Regions from separate parts of the Homo sapiens genome. Here region 1 is linked to region 2. Evidence: promoter capture Hi-C in human tissues and cell types (Jung and others, 2019). All regions are on one chromosome and are shown on one strand. Each heading gives the region's core, a stretch centred on a gene start or on the middle of the fragment in contact. The rest is flanking DNA. Distances are from core to core; before and after follow the strand shown.

Region 1 (2,700 bases), core at 5-2,504, 59 kb after region 2:
ATACCGAGGACCAGAGAACTGCTTGTGTCATGCTTTACCTTTGAATTGCTAGCCCACTGGCATAACTTTAGTTTTTCTTGAAACTGTTTTTTTACATAGCCATTAGTTCTCACTTTTGGCTATGATAACAGATTACTGTTTATCTCCCAGTTAAAATTGGAGCTAAAATTTAGAAGGAGCAAAATACTTAAGACACAAAGCTTAAAAGTTGCTTGTTTTCTAGGTACTTTACAACCTTGGAACAGTGACTCCACCCTGAACAGCAGGCAGCTGGAGCCAAGAACTGAGACAGACAGTGTGGGCACGCCACAGAGTAATGGAGGGATGCGCCTGCATGACTTTGTTTCTAAGACGGTAAATCTGTGATTGTTGTTTGTGTTTTAATTTTTTAATTGTGAAAGTAATAAATACCAGGAATAAAGTTAAATACTTTAGTGTTATAAAGTTAAATGTCAAATTTCCTTCCTCATTCCAATTTTACTCTCCAGAAGTAACTATTGGTTACAGAGGTAAGTTTCTTTCCATTCTGTGAGTAATACTAAATTAAAGAGACCAACTTTTCTGAAGCAATTGTTAGTACTTTTTTTTTTTTAATTTGAGACAGAGTCTTACTCTGTCACCCAGGCTGGAGTGCAGGGGTGTAATCATAGCTCACTGTAGCCTTAACCTCCCAGTCTCAAGCAATCCTCCTGCCTCAGCCTCCTGAGTAGTAGGGATACAGATGTGTGCCACCACGCCCGGCTAATTTTTAAATTTTTTGTAGAGACTTGGTCTTGCTATGTTGCTCAGGCTGGTCCTGAACTCCTGGGCTCAAGTGCTCCCCCTGCCTCAGCTCCCAAAGTCCTGGGATTACAGGCATGAGCTACTGTGCCTGGCCCATTGTTAGTACTTTTTAGTGACACATGTTTACATTTTTTCTTGAATATATCACCTAAGATTTTCAAAATGTTTTGCTTTTGTACCATTTTATTTCCTTATAAAAATCCAAGCAAATTAACTGAGGCTCAGAGGAGTTAACTGACATTTTTGAGCCACATGATAGTAAGTGACAGATTTCACATCCAGGTTTTCTTTTTTTCTTTTTTTTTCTTGAGACAGAGTCTCACTCTGTTGCCCAGGCTGGAGTGCAGTGGTGCGATTTCGGCTCACTGCAACCTCTGCCTCCCGGGTTCAAGCAATCCTCCTGCCTCAGCCTCCCGAGTAGCTGGGATTACAGGTGCCCACCACCATGCCCGGCCAATTTTTTGTACTTTTAGTAGAGATGGGGTTTCACCATGTTGGCCAGGCTGGTCTCAAACTACTGACCTCAGGTGATCCTCCCGCCTCAGCCTCCCAAAGTGCTGGGATTACAGGCGTGAGCCACCATGCCCTGCCAACATCCAAGTTTTCTGCTCTTTGTAAACAAGTTCTTTCCACTATCACACACTGCTGCCTTCCAGTGGGATGACCTTAAACAAGTTACTTAAACTCTCTTTGCTTCTGTTTCCTCATCTTAAAATGAAGAAAACAAAACCTATTTTATGGGATTACTGTGAGAATTACATATGTAAATATGTCTAAAGGGCTTAGAAAATTTTTTGGCACATACTAAGTGCTCAATAAATGTTAGTTGATTATGGCTGGGCACAGTGGCTCACGCCTGTAATCCCAGCACTTAGGGAGACTGACGCAGGCAGATCACCTGAGGTCGGGAGTTCGAGACCAGCCTGACCAACATGGAGAAACCCCGTCTCTACTAACAATATAAAAATTAGCCGGGCGTGGTGGCGCATGCCTGTAATCCCAGCTACTTGGGAGGCTGAGGCAGGAGAATCGCTTGAACCCGGGAGGTGGAGGTTGCAGTGAGCCAACCTCTACCACGCCATTGCACTCCAGCCTGGGCAACAAGAGCGAAACTCTGTCTCAAAAAAAGACAAAAAAAGGCCAGGCCCAGTGGCTCACGCCTGTAATCCCAGCACTTTGGGAGGTCGAGGTGGGTGAATCACAAGGTCAGGAGTTCGAGACCAGCCTGGCCAACATGGTGAAACCCTGTCTCTACTAAAAATACGAAAAATTAGCTGGGCGTAGTGGTGGGCACCTGTAATCCCAGTTACTCGGGAGGCTGAGACAGGAGAATCGCTTGAACCTGGGAGGCAGAGGTTGCAGTGAGCTGAAATCACACCACTGCACTCCAGCCCAGGCGAGAGAGTGAGATTCGGTCTCAAAAAAAAAAAAAAAAAAAAGTTAGTTGATTATGATGATAATTTTCTAATTCATATCACTCTGTTCCTTCTGCCCTGTTTTATCCCAGGTTATTAAACCTGAATCCTGTGTTCCATGTGGAAAGCGGATAAAATTTGGCAAATTATCTCTGAAGTGTCGAGACTGTCGTGTGGTCTCTCATCCAGAATGTCGGGACCGCTGTCCCCTTCCCTGCATTCCTACCCTGATAGGAACACCTGTCAAGATTGGAGAGGTATGACTTATGCAAGCCGTCATTGTTTTATGGCCTCTTTATTCGCCTTTCAAAGGCTTAGTGTCAGTTTTTGTTCTAAAATTAATCATCTCAAATATATTTCTTTCCACAAATAATGACTAGAATTGTAAGATACTTACTTGTAGAAGAGTCCTGTTTGGGTTTGTCTGTCTAATACCTTTCTAAACCAAACTTCTTTCCCCGCCCCTTTTTCCTTCTTGCTCTTCCCTGCTTCTCCTTGCCTC
Region 2 (2,700 bases), core at 159-2,658:
CTCGTCGAGCTTGGTGACATGGTGGTAGTGGAAGTAGTACTGCACACGCTCCGTGCACACACACAGCAGCACAGCCAGGGAGCCCAGGAAGCACAGGGCCCACAGTGCCCGCTTCAGAGACAGCCGCTCGTAGGAGAAGATGTGGGCCAGGCCGTGCAGTGTGGAGCTGCTGGCGAAGGCCTGGATGCTCACCGGCTGGACGCCACCCACCTCCTCCTCCTCGGCCTTCAGTTCCATCCTTGTTGAGGGGATCCTGGGGGAGGAGGGAGGGACAGTCTATCATTGTCCTGGGATGAAAGTACACATGGAGCCCCTCCACATGTGCCCATCCAGAATCCTCATCTCCAGAGGTCACCACTCCTCGGGCAGAAGACTTCCCTGCTTTGCAAGCCCAGAGGTGGCTGACCAAGGGACACATCCAGGGTTCCTCCAAATACAGAGGCACAGGGGGTCAGGTCAGGCCAAGAGAATGCTCCCCAGAGAAGCTTCCCAGGCCCGGGGAGACCCCAGATATAGTCATCCGAGGTTGAGGGGGAAGTCCTGATGCACCCATAGGCAGGCGCAGGAGTTCCCTCCAGATGTGGGGTCACTCTGGGACAAGAATATCCACCCCATCCTGGAGATGAAAACTCACCCAGATGGGCTGACCCCGGGGTAAGGAGCTCCTGTCCTGGTCACGGGTATTCCCTGGACGGGGCTGTGGTCCTAAGGGCTAAACTGGGGCCAGAAAACCCCCAGGGAGGTGGCTACATCTAGGGAGGGGCCCAGCCTGAGTCCTCACCTGCGGGTGTCTCCAGTTCTCACATAAGCGCAGGCTGTGTGTATGTTGGGAGTGGGGGGTGGCGGGCTGCCCGAGGTGGATGTATGGAGGGGGGGCGCGGTTCCCTATGACAGCGAGCTGTCCCCGCCCCGGACGCAGCCCCCCCCAGTCCAGCTTCTCGTCGCAGTCAGATCCCCAGCTCGGCCCCCGCCCCCCTCCCCAGCCACCGAGCCGCCCCAGCAGCAAGGGAAATCCAGAGGGAGGAGAGTCCCGGCTTCGGGGTACCGAGGAGCCTCGCGGCCAAAGGCAGGGGTATCGGAAACCCACCTGAGGGGGCTTCGGCAAGCCGGCAGCCGGCGGCGGGTCCTGGGGCGCTGGACCGGTGGCGGGCTCAGCGCCGAGTCGCGGAGGGGCTCATGGCCCGGGGCCGGAGCCCGCGGCCGCCGCGGCACGCCGCGCAGAGCCCTGCAGGGAGCGCCCCGCCCGGCCCCGCTCGGCTCCGATCTGTCCGCCCGCCCGCGCGCGCTGGCTCGCTGGCTCGCTCGCCTCGGCTCGGTCTGCCCGGGCTCGGCGCGGTGCGCGGTGCTCTCAGCCCTGGGATCTGCAGGGATCCATCGTCCGGCCGGGAGGCGGCGGGAGGGGAGGGGGAGGGGAGAGGGTGCGCGTGCGCGCCTACGAGTGTCTGCGAGGCTGTCTCTGGGCTGGTGTGCGCGCGGGGCCCCGGATCCGGGAGCGGGACCCAGGGCTCCCCGCGCCGCCTCGCCCCTCCTCGCGGCCGCTTTCGGCGGCGCTGCCTCTCTCCAGTCCCGGAGCCGTCTCCCTGCCTGCGAGGCCCTATGGCTTGTGTGTATGACTCTGTGTGTGGTGTGTGTGCGCGCGCGCGTGTGTGCGCGCAGGAGGGAGGGTGTCTGCCCCTAGCGTCCCTCTCCCCGCGCTGTCTCCTTCGGATCGATGCTCCTGCCTCTTGCTGCTGCTTCCTCTGGTGGCACACACGCGCGTACACACACACATACACACACACGCTCCGAGTCACACTTGACTAATTCAAGCACTTAGCCCATATGGAGACAGACACACATACCGACCAGAGTCACACCACACCATTCACAACCACACCCCCCCGCAACAGATGTCCACGTATCCCGGGGGCCTGACCCACATGGCAAGCACTCACCTGCTCTTATCCCTGCTCCCACCTGCATGTGACACATATACACGTGCACATATGTGAGCCAACACGCAGCCTTGACCACTCAGATCCCATCCTTGTAGCTTTGGGCTTGTGGGGGGCATGGTCGCAACCCCTTACTGCCAAATCTCCAAAGAAGGAGCAGAGAAAAGGAAGGAAAAATAGCCAGAGGTCAAGGGAATTTGGACAGAAGGAAGGAGGCAAAGGGAGTGAAGGGGACAGGGTGAGGAAGGGTTGGAACGGGGAGCTATGCTCAGGGATGGAGCAGAAGTCTCAGCACAGAACGCAGGCCTGGGGGCTGCTCCTGTGGCTCTCACCTTTCTCCTTCCCTGCCTCCCTCCTCTTCTCTGAGAGGCCTTGGGGAGGGGGGCCCTCCCTATCCAATTAACAGAGAAGGAGCAATCAAGGGGAAGTTGTTAATTTGCTGATGCTCATTAGGGGCTCTTAGCACAGAGGCTGTTGAGGTCTGATGGTGTCAGATGATGAGGAGGAGGGTGCGGGGGACCAGAGTTCTGTCTCTAGTGGCTCCTTCGCTCTACTTGCAGGCTGGTGCGGCTCGGGGAGAAGGATGGTGAGAGGTGTATTCCTAGGACATGGTGCCGGGCTTTAAGTTAGAAGAAAACCTGTAACGAGAAGGGGATGGCACATTGGAAAGAAGTTGGATGAGAAGTTGGGAGTAGTGGACATCTAGGAAACCAGAGAAGGGGTCTGGAGGTCCCTAGTGGGAGAGTGGACTTAAGATTGTGGAGGA

Evidence for each region. The method cuts DNA at HindIII sites, captures the fragments that hold promoters and counts their contacts. A contact is called where the count stands out against the background at its distance.
Region 1: a fragment that was not itself captured here is called in contact with the fragment with the promoter of ASIC1 in region 2 in 1 of the 25 tissues and cell types used here (neural progenitor cells).

Annotation. Positions count from the first base shown.
Region 1 is chr12:49,996,795-49,999,494 of GRCh38, reverse strand. RACGAP1 (Rac GTPase activating protein 1) reads left to right here. Exons shown (of 17, transcript NM_001319999.2): 9 at 224-354; 10 at 2,291-2,455. Among named protein-coding and RNA genes, the nearest start is that of AQP6, 25 kb to the right of the region's middle. The HindIII fragment of the contact is 4,436 bases long and covers 1-2,700 here.
Region 2 is chr12:50,056,304-50,059,003 of GRCh38, reverse strand. ASIC1 (acid sensing ion channel subunit 1) reads right to left here and starts at 1,408. Exons shown (of 12, transcript NM_001095.4): 1 at 1,088-1,408; 2 at 1-253. The coding sequence starts at 237. RefSeq lists silencers at 1,206-1,375, 1,446-1,605. The HindIII fragment of the contact is 14,217 bases long and covers 1-2,700 here.